3 separate regions of the Homo sapiens genome follow, and regions 2 and 3 are each linked to region 1. The links are contacts of gene promoters, found by promoter capture Hi-C in blood cells and fetal thymus (Javierre and others, 2016). All regions are on one chromosome and are shown on one strand. The core of a region is centred on a gene start or on the middle of the fragment in contact, and the rest is flanking DNA. Distances in the headings are between cores, read along the strand shown.

The links. Contacts are between HindIII fragments. The CHiCAGO score rates a contact against its expected background, and 5 or more counts as called.
Region 2: a contact is called between a fragment that was not itself captured here and the fragment with the promoter of TOR1AIP2 in region 1, in 1 of 17 cell types (total CD8 T cells). The highest score is 5.4, in total CD8 T cells.
Region 3: a fragment that was not itself captured here is called in contact with the fragment with the promoter of TOR1AIP2 in region 1 in 1 of 17 cell types (neutrophils); the score reaches 5.0 in neutrophils.

The regions. Positions count from the first base shown.
Region 1 is chr1:179,875,394-179,880,307 of GRCh38, forward strand. TOR1AIP2 (torsin 1A interacting protein 2) reads right to left here and starts at 2,410. Exons shown (of 7, transcript NM_001199260.2): 1 at 2,300-2,410; 2 at 1,846-1,980. RefSeq lists an enhancer at 2,385-2,744. The HindIII fragment of the contact is 9,006 bases long and covers 1-4,914 here.
Region 2 is chr1:181,088,410-181,093,323 of GRCh38, forward strand. IER5 (immediate early response 5) reads left to right here and starts at 291. Exons shown (of 1, transcript NM_016545.5): 1 at 291-4,491. The coding sequence starts at 494. The coding sequence ends at 1,477. LOC124904465 (a long non-coding RNA gene) reads right to left here and starts at 92. Exons shown (of 2, transcript XR_007066762.1): 1 at 1-92. RefSeq lists silencers at 70-339, 650-809, 1,010-1,229, 1,804-2,098 and an enhancer at 1,620-1,789. The HindIII fragment of the contact is 1,793 bases long and covers 2,146-3,938 here.
Region 3 is chr1:181,013,448-181,018,361 of GRCh38, forward strand. All of the region lies in intron 1 of STX6 (syntaxin 6), which reads right to left. Among named protein-coding and RNA genes, the nearest start is that of STX6, 7.0 kb to the right of the region's middle. The HindIII fragment of the contact is 4,559 bases long and covers 526-4,914 here.

The sequences.
Region 1 (4,914 bases), core at 1,160-3,659:
GTGCAATACTGGCAACCACAGGGGCACAAAAGAAGTCCTCAAAAACCGTAAATAATTATTATTTGAACTATTAAAGGCAAAACCAGACAGCTTCATTTATATAATTAAAACCCCAGAAGACACCAATGTTTCAAAATTTGACTTTTTCCAAAAATGTCATTACATTTACATGATAGATACTCATGGTCAAGGGCTGAAGGAAAATCTCTAAAAATCAAACAATTTGATTTGTTGAGGTAGTGGAGTTATAGGTGAATTTTCTTCCCAGAAATTTCGATTACCAAAATTATGTGCACAGTTCATACCAGAGCCATGGCACCAAAAAAAAAAAAATCATGTGCCAGCTCCTTTAAATATTAGTAAAGAGGAAAACAGCCCACACAGTAACAAAATAGGAATTCAAACCCAGCTATGACTCCAGTCTATGCTCATTACCAATGTTAGGGACACGCTTCCTTATTCCCAAGTGCTTGATTTCTGTGCAAAATTTATGGTAATATATGATCGCCCTATGAATTCCTTCTTGTAGGACACAGTTTAATCCAGTAGTTCATATGATGTAGAAATATTAATGAAATTTTAACACAATCAAAATTCTAAATGGTAAATAAAACAGCCAATTCTTCATTCTTTAAATTTTTTTGGAAGTTGTCGAATCTCCAAGTTTATGGGCCTTCACAGTTGACTTAGTGAACAACCTCAAAGTGATAAAGCAGACAAGGCTTTTTGAAGCAAACATTCCTTCAGGAAATTCAAGTGGCACTTCAAAGAAGTGTGGACTTTCCTGGAATAGAATTTTGACTTCTGTGTTCCATGGAAATGAATGGAATACAGAAATTACTTCTTAGGCAAAAATAAGTTATATACAAGATACAATACATTATTAAAACACCCAATAATCCTCAAATAATTAGCTACATTCTGAAGTTAATTTATTTATAAATTATTGAAGCTCTCAAGCTAGCATTACCTCTACATTAGGAAAGAAACTAGATAAAATAGTTCTTAAATGAGTCACGCAAGGTTGCGTAACAAACCAGCAGAAAAACAGGTAATCAAGTTGTGGACTGCACGTTCAGCATAATAAACATTACTGAAGACAGGCACTCAGTTTTCATAACAAATGTTAGTTTTTCAAACTATTCTAATCCACACAAAGTCTTCCAAAAACATCTGTAGTTACTCTACCATGAAGTTCCTTTTTTTATTAAATGTTTCCACTGGCCTTTTATATCCTCATCTTGTGCTCAAAAAAAAAAGCTCAAAAAACATGGATAACTGCCACAGCTTAAAACAAAGAAAGGATCTCTCATACAGATCCAAAATAAAATGTGTTAAAACCTAAAGACAGGTAAAACAAAGCCAGTATGTTTAATCTATGTAACTCATTTCTGGATCTGTGTAACAGTATAAAGTCTGATAATTAAGCATTACTCATAAAGTAGAGAGTACTATGAAATTTGTTAAAAGAAGGAAAAGGCACAAACTTTTTCATCAGGTATTAAATACAATTGGGAGAATGGTACATATATAATATGTAAGCAAAATGGTAGGAGGTCTTACTAAAACTTCAACTTTGCCCTTTTTAGCACCAATTTTTTTTTTTTTTAAGTATTATCTTTTCAGGATTAAGATTATGAATGTCGAGAACCTAGGCATGTTGGGAATGGAGTAATCGCCGCCTACACTAGTAGGCAAATTTCCCACTCACATTTCGAACCCTAAAATAATTCGGCTTCTCACCTTAAAGTCTAAACCCAAAAATTTACTCACATCTTAACCCATTTAATATTTATAAGATTCAGTTTCTTTTTATCCCAAAACAAAAATATACCCCCAACCTACCTCGTTTACTGTTTGAGTGAGGCCAGGCGTGGTGGCTCACGCCTGTAATCCCAGCACTTTGGGAGGCTGAGGTGGGAGAATCGCTTGAAGCCAGGAGTTCGAGACCAACCTGGGCAATACAGTGAGACCCTGTCGCTATAAAAATAAAAAATAAAGTAATTAGTAGGGCATGGTGGTGCGGGCCTGTAGTTCCAGCTACTTGGGAGGCTGAGGCGGGAGGATCCCTTGAGCCCAGAAGTATGAGGCTGTGGTGAGCTATGATCACGCCACTGTACTCTAGCCTCGGTGACAGGGCAAGTACCTGTCTCAAAAACAATAAAAATAAAAATACCATTTGTGCGGTACGAAGGTGGGGGTGGGGAGGGACCGTTTCTGAAAGTCCTTTTCAAAAATTCAAGATATCAGTTTCAATACTAAAACATGGAAAAGCTGCATAGTCATTTTGTTTACTTACAAATTCTGGCGAAGTTTTAAATCGTAAAACTGTTAGTATCAGGAGAGCCCTTCGAGTATTCTCTCCGCTCCACACCGCTCGGCTGCACCCAGCGGCCGCCGCGGCCCGAATGTCGTCCAGGGTCCCCGCCCATATGACAAACACTTTCCGCCGGAAGGCGCCCGTGGAATCCTGGGACTAGTAGTCTCCGTGCCCTGCCTTCTGCCTTCTCCATCCTTCACCCTCTACTGCCAGGTCGTCTGACCCAGCGACAGGCGCGGTAAATGCGCGACCAAACCGCAGAGGTCCCATGCAATCTCATGCTGACAGGATTACAGGCATCTCTGTAAGACGTCGACCACCCTGACCTGAAATTCATAGACTGAAGAAACTCATAGGACCAACACAGTGAGCAGCAGTACCAAATGATAATGGCAAGCACCATGTCCTGGAACACACCCTCTGTGCCATTAAGAGGAGCATGTAATCCAATGAGTTGCCTAATCTAAACCTCAGTTTGCTCGTGTGTCAAATGGGGACAACGTTACTTACCTCATAAGTTTGTTATTAGTAGATTAGATGACGTATGCAGCATTTCTGTTAAATGACAGTAGTGACAAAAAATAGCTGTTTTGATCTACTAATTTTATAAATGTGAAAATTAAGAGATGGCGAGCAATTTACCCAAGAACATACAATTTGTTGGGGGAAAAATGAAGTAAGTCTAAAATTCCTGTTCTTGACCTACAGCAATTCAGGACAAATCTAACCAAATTTCAAGAAGAAATCTATTCATGTAAAACTCCCTTCCCCTTTCCTCTTTTTTTTCCCATAACAGTCCTGACCAACACACTATTTTACTTATTTTGATTTTTGCCCGACTCCTCCCATAGAATATAATCTCCAAGAAGGCAGGAAACATTTTTTGTCTTTTAGTCTATTTTGTTCACTGCTGTATCCCCAGCACAGAGAACAGGGACTGCCTACTACACAGTAGCTCAAGTATTTATTGAATTAATAATTCCTCATTTAATGTGATTTTTGGTGCCTTCACTTCTCAATCACCCTCTCTTGGCAGAAGTGACAGGATTTGGTAACACTCTTGGATGGTGTTTAATAATTAACTGCAAGTCCTAATTCAACAAAAAGAATACTATATTCCATTCACTTTATTGTGTTTAATTAATTTCAGTATAACATTTCCAGGAATTTTCATTTGTATTGTCATTAAAATATTTTTCTATCATTTGTAAGACTGGGGAATAAATGGAGCCAGCTACTATGTCTTTAATTAACTTCCTCCTGTTTAATATTTTAATCATCTTTTCCTTATTAAAATTGTTTGCCTACTTCATTTGTACTACTAAGTCACAACGGATAGATTTATCTCTTTAAATAAATGAACTTCTGCTTACCCTAAAGCAAAAAGTTCCTGTACAAAAAATTTATTGTTCTAAAATGTTTCATTTAAAATAATTATTTTGGCCAGGCGTGGTGGCTCACACCTGTAATCCCAGCACTTTGGAAGGCCAAGGCGGATGGATCACCTGAGGTCAGGAGTTCAAGACCAGCCTTGCCAACATGGCAAAATCCATGTCTACTAAAAATACAAAAATTAGCTGGGCATGGTGGCAGGCACCTGTAATCCCAGCTACTCGGGAGGCTGAGGCAGGAGGATCACTTGAACCTGGAGTTGGGGGAGGCTGCAGTAAGCCGAGATTGCACCACTGCACTCCAGCCTAGGCGAAAGAGCGAGACTCCGTCTCTAAATAAATAAATTAATTAAAAATGAAATAAAATAACTGATTTAGGAACCCAGTCTCAAGAGCACAGGATTTCCAGACCTAGCCCTAATAGTTAAGTGTGTGAATTAATGCCATTTAATCTGAATTGTAATTTTTCGTGTTTCTGTCGTTCCCAATAAATGACAAATTCCCTAAAGATAGTCTTCCTCATTGCTGGCACACGTTTGATAAGTAAATGAATTATTAAGTGTATTCTTTGTTTTAATCATTTCTTTTCTTACCGGTCTTCTTTTTTGGGTCACTGAATTCCTCCAGATTTCTCAAATTCCCAAAGTAACTTTAATATCCAGAGCTGAGGCATCCTTTTTTAGTGGCCCAGCGCATCCCTTATAATATTGGCTATGACTCTACTGTCACTGTAATGTCACCTCTTTTCAGCCACTCTTATAGTCTGGATAATAGCTACAGCAGAGTATCTAGTTTCATAACAGTTTAGCTTTGCCTCAGAGCTAGTGATGAAAGTTTCGTATCTGTAAGGTTTCTAGGTGAAGGAGGCAGTCACAGTAGAGGTAGGTTTCCTTATGCTTACAACCTAGATGAGAGGGAAAATCCGATGCATATATATATGTGTGTGTGTGTGTGTGTGTGTGTGTGTGTGTTAGCATTAAAGTTACCATACCTCTAATTTTACAGTAAGTGTCTCATTAATTTAGTTGAAAGGCCATTCCTAAGCCTTTACAAGCAGTTTTAATTACAAAATATGCATATTCTGATTATTCAATAATATGCAGAACCTCTCCTCTGATTGTTCAATATGTAGAATCTCTTGTCTCTTTTTTAATTTGTCCCTCAAACCTAAGTTTTACAAGCCTGTATCCAAGTTTTATAAGC
Region 2 (4,914 bases), core at 1,792-4,291, 1.2 Mb after region 1:
CGGCAAGCCATCGCACAAGCCAGAATCTGTAACTCCAAACAGTAGCGCTCTCGAGCACCGTCCCGAACATTCACTCCCCACGGGCCTGGTCTGCGGCCGCAAGCCGTCGCCCCCTTTAAGAGCCTGCTCCGCGGGACTAACGTTCGAACGGGCCCTGGCGCCCCTCCTCGGGCTCCGATTGGCCGTGCGCGGCGCACGAGGGCGCGCCGGCCAGCCCCGGAACGGTTGGCGGCCCTTCGTGATTGGCGGTCGAGAAGCCTATATAAGGCGCGGGGCAGCCAGGCTGCCCTGTTTAGCGACCGGACCCGAAACGGGGAAGTTGTCTTGTTTGGAGAGGTTAGTAGAGCAGCGCGCGCGTCACCAGAGTCGTTTCTCTTCGGAGTCTTAGGTGATCGAGGGTGTGCCCAGGGGGCGGACTTGTTTGCGCCTCCCGTTCCCTCCCAATTTCCAAACGTGTCACCCCGGCGCCGACGGCCCTGTGCAGGGGAAGCAGATGGAGTTCAAGCTGGAGGCTCATCGCATCGTCAGCATCTCTCTGGGCAAGATCTACAACTCGCGGGTCCAGCGCGGCGGCATCAAGCTGCATAAGAACCTCCTGGTCTCGCTGGTGCTGCGCAGCGCCCGCCAAGTCTACCTGAGCGACCCGTGCCCCGGCCTCTACCTGGCCGGTCCCGCTGGGACCCCGGCGCCGCCACCGCAGCAGCAGCCCGGGGAGCCGGCGGCCGGGCCACCCGCCGGCTGGGGAGAGCCGCCCCCGCCCGCCGCTCGTGCCTCTTGGCCGGAGACCGAGCCGCAGCCGGAGCGCTCCTCCGTCTCAGACGCGCCGCGGGTAGGGGACGAGGTGCCGGTGGCCACGGTGACTGGAGTCGGGGACGTTTTTCAGGGCGGAGAGGCGGACGCGACGGAAGCTGCCTGGAGCCGCGTGGAGGGGCCGCGCCAGGCGGCGGCCAGAGAAGCCGAGGGTACCGCCGGAGGCTGGGGCGTCTTCCCCGAGGTATCTCGTGCCGCGCGCCGCCCCTGCGGCTGCCCCCTAGGCGGGGAGGACCCGCCGGGTACACCGGCCGCGACCCCCCGCGCTGCCTGCTGCTGCGCGCCGCAACCAGCGGAGGACGAGCCCCCCGCGCCGCCCGCGGTGTGCCCCAGGAAGCGCTGCGCGGCGGGGGTGGGCGGCGGCCCAGCGGGCTGCCCGGCGCCCGGCTCGACCCCGCTCAAGAAGCCCCGCCGGAACTTAGAGCAGCCGCCGAGTGGAGGAGAGGACGACGACGCGGAGGAGATGGAGACCGGGAACGTGGCTAACCTCATCAGCATCTTCGGTTCCAGTTTCTCGGGACTCCTACGGAAAAGCCCCGGGGGCGGCAGAGAGGAAGAGGAGGGAGAGGAGAGCGGTCCGGAAGCCGCCGAGCCCGGGCAGATCTGCTGCGATAAGCCGGTGCTGAGAGACATGAACCCCTGGAGCACAGCCATCGTGGCCTTCTGAGCCCTTGGCCCCCCTGCGGGGAGGAGGTGGAGCAGCGGGCGTCCCCGAAGTGAGGGCCAGGCCCTTCCCGGCTGCGAGGACGCCCAGAGACCGCGGGCGCTGAGCGCGTTGGGCAGACTGGTTGCCTCTGGGCATCGCAAACTGCCCCCGGGCGCATCTGGCTTATCTGGAGACCTGGGAGCTTGAGGCTCATTGGAAGAGGACGATCGTTAACTTTTGTGTTTGTGTATGTCTGTGTATGTAAGTTTGTCTTGTGGCATTAAGACTATTTTGCTCTTCTGGAATGCACCACTCCTTCCCCAGGGTTTAAGAGATTGGGGGCAGACAGGGACTTTCCTCTGCCGGCTGCGTGGAGAAGGAAGCGGCTAAAAGGTTTGGGCCGGGGAGTTCCCCATTCGTTCTCCGGGGAGGGAGGGACTTTACACCTACCCCTCACCGGAAAGCTAGACCCGCTTCAGGGCCAGGAGTGGCGTTTCCGCACAGGATTTCCTAAGACGAGAGGGATTTAGCCAAGAGCACAGACTTGGATTCCTTCTGTCCCTCCCCACCTTTCTCTCCCAATGAAGAAACGTTTATATCCTGTGATTACTCTAGGAAAGGGGCGTATTAACGGTCCTTTGCTTCCCCGCAGGGGAGAAAAAGCTTGACGAACTTCACAGAAGAGTTCAAGCTTGGAAATAATGGAGTTTATAGAGAAAAGATATATTTTTAAAAGCTCTAGGTCAGAAGTACTACACAGTGCTTTTAAAAAGTGTTTAATGAGAGTTTACAGACAGAAGCCCGAAGTGGAAAGACCTTATGGTTTTGTAGATATGGTGACTCCAGTCTTTGTTGTATAAAGGTTGGGGGAGCTGATAAGGTTTTTGTACAGTATTTTCTCCTTCGTTGTATTGATTTTTGTATAAAAATGTAACTTCTACGTGTCTAACACGTATTAAATATTTTGAAGCAACGTAACTGCCTGCTTGTCTGTAATAACCTGCCTGGGTTGGGAGGGAAGTGGGAGGAGGGAAACCAGGGCCTGAGCTAGAAAATTGAAGGTGTGGTTCTTAGTATCAGTCATTCGCAGACTGAGGACATTGTTTACTGACTCCACTAAGTATCAAGAGAGACACGTTTAATTTTTCCTCCTAGATCAGAGGACTGCTATTAGATACTAATATCGGCGACCTGTCAGGTTCTAGAAACCTGCCACTACAACTGCCTTTTCTAAGGTCAGTTTAGACCAATTTGTCACCCAATATGTGGGTGTCTAATACTAAGTAATTTAACCAACTTTTGAAGCCCCGCTTATCCACAAAAATGTTTTTCAGCAAAACTTTGTTTCCTGTTAAGCTATTAATACGGGTCATCTTTTAGCTTTGTAATTGAAAAAAAAAAAGTTTAGATAGTAGTTTACCTTAAAAGCCCATTCGAACTGACATAGGAAGATGAAAGAGACTGACTTGTCCAAATTGTCAGGTCCACCTCTGCATCACAGTGGATGTCAGGATGTAAATTTTCAGTTTTTCTCTTACATCTAGAAAGTAAATATATTGCTGAGAGGGAAATTGTTTGCATCAAACCAGATAAGGAAGGAGGGCTAGGCAAATTTAGTTCTCATTTAGCAAAACTTCCTGATTTGTTTTGTTACTTAAATGGTGACATCAGTGTTTGGTCATGGTAGACACTTAGGTGATGATAGCCAAAACATCCATCGATTTTACTAAAATCACTGCCATTAAGAGAGTTTTTTGTCTCTTCATGTTCAATGTTTGAAAGGTATTCAGTAATCTATTTCAGAAGCAAATCAATTAGGGAATGGTGTTTATTAAAATACGGTACAGTTGCCAGGACTTTAAAAGATGGTACTGGTTTCTAACAACTTACGAGTATATAGGGTATTTAAAAGATGGGAGAGATTGAAGAAAGACAAAGGTTTAAAGGTCATAGCCTTCGAGCATAAGAGGCATATGAATGGTGTCTTGGCCTTAACTCCCAATTATACGAACTTCTGTTTTAGCTGAATAGGCCAGTGCCTCGTGCCTTGATATTTCGGCAAATCTATTAGTGGTTCCTTAAGCATAGGGAACTTTGTACTTTATGCTCTGTCGCCATAATAATGTATTTATAGAATTAAACATTCTCAAATTAGGGTCTTGTTAAACTGACTTTTTCTTTCAGAAAGTAGCTACTTAAATTCTGTTACAGCTACAAAAGATCCATCAAGTGCTGACTGCTTAAACTGAAGAAGGTGTCCAGGGCCTTAATTCTGCAAACATTTCCTGTTGTTAGAAAGTATGATGCTTGAACAGCGATCTCAGTGTATTTTATGTTTTAAAGGGGGTAACGTTTGGTGTGTTTAAGAGAGCTGATGTGTTTTGGATGAGACTAAAGTTGATCCTTGGTTTTACATTAAGATGAACCTGGGTCCATGTGTCTGCTTAAAGAATGTAAATTGGCATACTTGATAGGAGGATAAAGCTTTGTAGGAATTAGAAAAGATCATTCTCTTTTTTGTTGCAGAAGCAGTATAGTATAGTAGTTAGAGCATGGGCCCTGGAGCCAGGCTGCTTGGTGTCTTCCTTTATTTATTTATTTATTTAATTATAAAAAGTAAATATAAAGTGAGCTATGTTGACCAGGTTCGTCTTGAACTCCTGGCCTCAAGCAATCCTCCTGCCTCAGCCTCCCAAAGTGCTGGGATTACAGGCATGAGCCACCACAACCTGGCCTGCTTGGGTTTTTCTATCTTGGCTCTGCCACCTAGCTGTGGGTCCTTGGACAAGTTACTTCATCTCTCTGTGCCTCAGGTTTTTCAAATGTAAAATTGGGATAATTGGATCTGTCTCATAGGGTTGTGAAAATTAATGAGTTAATGCTCTTAGAAGAGTACCTCATATGTAATAAGCACGCAACTGTTAATTATTGTTAATGTAGAAGTTAATTCTGTGTATAAATCAGATACACTGTGGTCAAAGATTTGTGTGTATTTGTAAGAAAAGAGGAGAATGGAGAATCTATTTTTAAGTGGTCCTATGTGTGAATGCTGGGTTCTTTTATTCCTCTTTTTCTCTGGACACTTGGCAGTCAGGAAGCTTTGTTCTACCAACATAGTTTTGTTGCTGTGAATGTCTCACACCAACCGGATGATTTTTCCAATTGTATCAAACAACTCTATTTTCAGGGAGGAGTAAGCTGAAGTGAAAACAGGCAAGGAGCAAAGTTCTTGTTGACATACAAATGCTTTCTGTGGATGAGTAAAGAAAAAAGTAGCCCATAAAGTTATTTTTGCTTGAATTATTGCGCATGGAATGTTTAAAACATGCTTATTGATAGGTTCTGGACAAGAGCCTTCCCAATGCCAACCTAGGGCTATCACACAACCAAATCAGATGCAGTGTGACTAGAAACGATGCCATGGTTTTAGTACCTAACCACTTCTTCACCACTCTGGG
Region 3 (4,914 bases), core at 1,555-4,054, 1.1 Mb after region 1:
TGCTAGGACTACAGGTGCACACTACCACGCCAAGCTAATTTTTTTTATTTATTGTAGAAACAGGGTCTCGCTGTTGCCCAGGCTGATCTCAAACTCCTGGCCTCAAGTGATCCTCCTGCCTTGGCCTCCCCCTTCATCGTTTTGATTTATCCTTTCTTCTTTGCCCATGCTGGCAGACTCTGAATTGGCATGTTCTAGTTATCGTGGTTGTTTAACAATGACCCCAAAATTTAGTGGTGTAAAACAACCATTTATCATGTCATGGAGTCTGTAGATCAGGAATCAGACACAGCAGAGCTGACTTGTCCCTGTTCCACAATGTCTGGGACCTCAGCTGAAAATATTAAACAGGCTGGGGCTGTAAAGGCATCACATCTCTCTATCTCTCCACAGTCTGCACACATGCTCTAACAGAGTGGCTTCAATGTAACTGGACTTGTTACATGTTAGCTCAGGGTAGCCTATACTTGTGTTCCAAGATGAAAGATGCAGATGGAAGGTATAGTGGTTGTCTTTTATGACTTAAGCTTCAGGAGTCAAGCAGCGTCACTTCTGCTTCAATCTGCTAGTCAAAGCAGTTTATAAAGGTCTGCCCAGGTTCAAAGGAAGGGAATACAAACTCCAGTTTGATAAAAGAATGCCAGCTTCACAATTTAATAAAAACAAACAGCCGGGCGTGGTGGCTCACGCCTGTAATCCCAGCACTTTGGGAAGCCGAGGTGGGTGGATCACCAGGTCAGGAGTTCGAGACCAGCCTGGCCAATACAGTCAAACCGTCTCTACTAAAAATACAAAAATTAGCCGGGTGTGGTGGCATGCACCTGTAAACCCAGCTACTCAGAAGGCTGAGGCAGAAGAATCGCTTGAACCCAGGAGGCGAAGGTTGCAGTAAGCCGAGATTGCACCACTGCACTCCAGCTTGGGAGACAGAGCAAGACTCCATCTCAAAAAAAAAAAAGAAAAAAAAAGAAAGAAAAGCAACACAGGACAGAACATTTATTGGTGCAGCCATCAATGGAAAAAATACAATCTGCCACAACTCTTTTATCTGGGACAGCACCTACTCTGCAAGTCTTTACAGAGGGATCCCCATTTCATCAATACAGTAAAAGAGGCTAGTCAAGGCTGAAAGTTTCCATTCTAGTAATGAAACATGAAAAATTCAGGTTGAGTGAGCCTCTGCAACACATCAGACTCCCACTCCTCACTCTTCTCCAACTGGTTCCTGCCCCATACCCCACAAACCTGGTTTCACCACTCATCTCTCCAGAAAGAGAGGAACTCTTTTTATTGCTTGACTTCTACATTCACATCGTTTGTATTTGAAAGGAAACACATGCACACCCTTTACTTGACTTTATTGCCATTTCCAAATTCAACCACACTGTGACATATTTTGTAATTACTCTTGTGAAAATGAAACATCATTTTTACTCAGTTACCTACAATTATATACAATTTTTGACCCTAACTTACTGCTGCTTCCACAACTCCACCAATGACACTGCAGGTCAAAGTCACGAGTGAATTTAACTTGTCCTCATTTTTGGTGCACTTGACACTATGGCCCATTATATCTATTTGCTTGAAACTCTCACTTTCTCTGTCTCTGTGACATTGTGCTGTTCTAGTTTTCTACCAGTTTTCTCCTTCCTCTTCCTCCACTGGATCCCAATGTTTCTCAGTACTCTTTGTGGCCTCTATGTGCTCATCAGCATTCACAAGTTCAAAGCACCCCTCTTAAGCTGATGACTCCCCCACTATACTTCCAACCCTAACCACTCAGCCAGGCTTAATTCCTATATTTTTAGCTGCCTATAGGATCATTCCATTTGCCTAAAACCAAATTAATCATATCCTCCCTACAAAACATAATGTATTCAAAACAAACAAAATAGAAAAATCTGCTTCCCTTTCTAGCTTCCTCATTTTAGCCAATAGTGCCACCATTTTCCAAGTTTCAACACTTGTCTAGACAAGAGTCATTTTTGACTCCTCCTCCTCCTTACCTTGCACAACCTCTACTTAAATCCAATCACTGAATTTTCAGATCTGGAAAGAACTTTCAAGATAATCTAGTTTGTGCTCCTTAAACATAAATAAGAGACCTTGGGGCTCAGACATATTGGCTGCTTGCCTCAAGTTCTTCCAACCCTGATTATAAGACACTTTCTATTACCAAGACTTATTTAATTGCATTTTTCCAAAACTTCCACACAAATCTTTTTTTTTTTTTTTGAGAGGGAGTTTTGCACTGTCACCAGGGCTGGAGTGCAGTGGCGTGATCTCAGCTCACTGCAAAAGAGGGTTCAAGCAATTCTCCTGCCTCAGCCTCCCAAGTAGCTGGGACTACAGGTGCCCACCACCACACCCAGCTAATTTTTTGTATCTTTGGTAGAGATGGGGTTTCACCATGTTGGCCAGGCTGGTCTCGAATTCCTGACCTCATGATTCGCCTGCCTTGGCCTCCCAAAGTGCTGGGATTACAGGCATGAGCCATCGCACCTGGCCCACAAATCTGTTTTCTTTGTAGAATCAGAAGATCTGGGTTTGAACCCTTAAAAGCTGACTATAAGCAAGTGAATAGTAACTGCTAGTTTAAAAACTGCCTCCTGATTTAGAATTTATGATAGAAATCAGATTAAATTTAAACTCCTCAGGCAGGTATTCAAACCCTCTCCCACTCCTCCTCCTAACCCAAACTGGCTGACTTTAGTATCAAGCATGGTTTCTCACTGAACAAATTCTGTTTCAGTTGGCAGGTCTTCTTCCCATCTTTATCTTTCTCATTCCTGGTTCTTGACTTCCACTCAGTTGTTTCCCCAGCCTAGAAGAGCCTTACACCTCAGCAGACACTTCCTTTAAGGCCCAGATTGACCAGCATTCCCAGCATGGGTCTTTCTTTTTTTTTCAATCTCCACAGCATCTCAACTCTACTGCAAAATCTTACACAATATATCTTTCACTTATCTGCATAGTGTTCTCCAAACTAAGGAGCTAAATAATATTAAACACTCAAATTTATAATAAAGGCTTGCAAATTTGTTCTTACAACGAAACACTGGATTCTGCTTTTTAGAAAGTATTAAATTTGATTTACATTCAATTTTACTAGGCCAAAATTAACAAACAAGGGTTATTTTTTTCACAGTGACTATACCAATACAGTTTTTCAACAGTGAATAGAATGCGTGATGCCCTCGAGGAGCTCATAATCTAGTGTTAATAAAGCTAGATATGCAGACAGAGAAGGTTAAAGAACACAACATAACATATACCATCTTACTCATCAGCTTACTTATGTCATTATTTCAACATCAATCCACAGCCAAAAACCTGGAAATAAAACTGTTATCATGCTGGGTGCGGTGGCTCATGCCTGTAATCCAAGCACTTTGGGAGGCCGAGGCGGGCAGATCACCTGAGGTCAGGAGTTCAAGACCAGCCTGGTAAACACAGTGAAACCCTGTCTCTACTAAAAATACAAAAACTATCCGGGCGTGATGGCGGGCTACTCGGGAGGCAGAGGCAGGGAGAAGTGCTTGAACCCGGGAGGCGGAGGTTGCAGTGAGCCAAGACGCGCCACTGCACTCCAGCCTGGGTGACAGAATGAGACTCTGTCTCAAAAACAAACAAACAAACAAAAAAACCATCCTCGGCTGGGCGCAGTGGCTCATGCCTGTAATCCCAGCACTTTGGGAGGCCGAGGTGGGAGGATCACGAGGTCAGGAGATCGAGACCATCCTGGCTAACACAGTGAAACCCCGTATCTACTGAAAATACAAAAAAAAAAAAATTAGCTGGGCGTGGTGGCGGGCACCTGTAGTCCCAGCTACTCAGGAGGCTGAGGCAGGAGAATGGCGTGAACCCGGGAGGCGGAGCTTGCAGTGAGCCGAGATCGCGCCACTGCACTCCAGCCTGGGCAACAGAGTGAGACTCCGTCTCAAAAAAACAAACAAACAAACAAACAAAAAACTATCCTCATCAGACACACAAAACCTCCACAGCAATAAAATAGCAAAGAGCCATGGTATTTGTACCTTTTATCCACAGGAGTGGCTCACTTATACTCTGTCTCCACATGCTCAGTTACATGGTTTTCTTCAGGGTTTGTCTGATTAGAAGGTGCAAATTCTAAAAGGAGGCTAATTCTAAAAACTTGCCAACAAGGGAGGAAAAAAACTACAGAACTAAACAATCAAAATGGGTTCACTCAACAAACACTGAGTACATCCTTACTGAATACAAAGATGAAGACTACAAGATTTAAATATGATATTTTCACCCGGAGATTAGTAAAGATTTTTTTAATGAAAATCCCAGTACTGGAATCAAGGGAATTGGGTCCCTCAAACACTTTGAGGGGCAAGGGGGAATATTCTGGAGGACAACGTGGTAGTATGCATCAAACGCTTTGCTGTGCCTGCCCTCTGAATTAGCAATTATGCTCCAGGAATACAGGCTATGAAAATCAGAAGCAGCAATACAGACCTATGACAAGTAGGCTTATCACCACATTAATTGTAGTGTGATCATAAATATAATGTATCTTCCAGGATGAACATTTATATGACAAAATACAATGCAGTCATTAAAAGCTGCCACCCAGAAGTCTGAAGGATATAAAGAAATACAGATGAAAACGTCATAAAACAGGCCAGGCGCGGTGGCTCATGCCTATAATCCCAACACTTTGGGAAGCCAAGGTGTGTGGATCACCTGAGGTCAAAGTTCAAGACCAGCCTGGCTAACAGGGTGAAATGCCATCTCTACTAAAAATACAAAATTAGCCAGGCATAGTGGCGCACATTGGTAGTCCCAGCTACTTGGGAGGGTGTGGCAGGAGAATCGCTTGAACCCAAGAGGTAGAGGTTGCAGTGAGCTGAGATCACGCCATCGCCATTGCACTCCAGC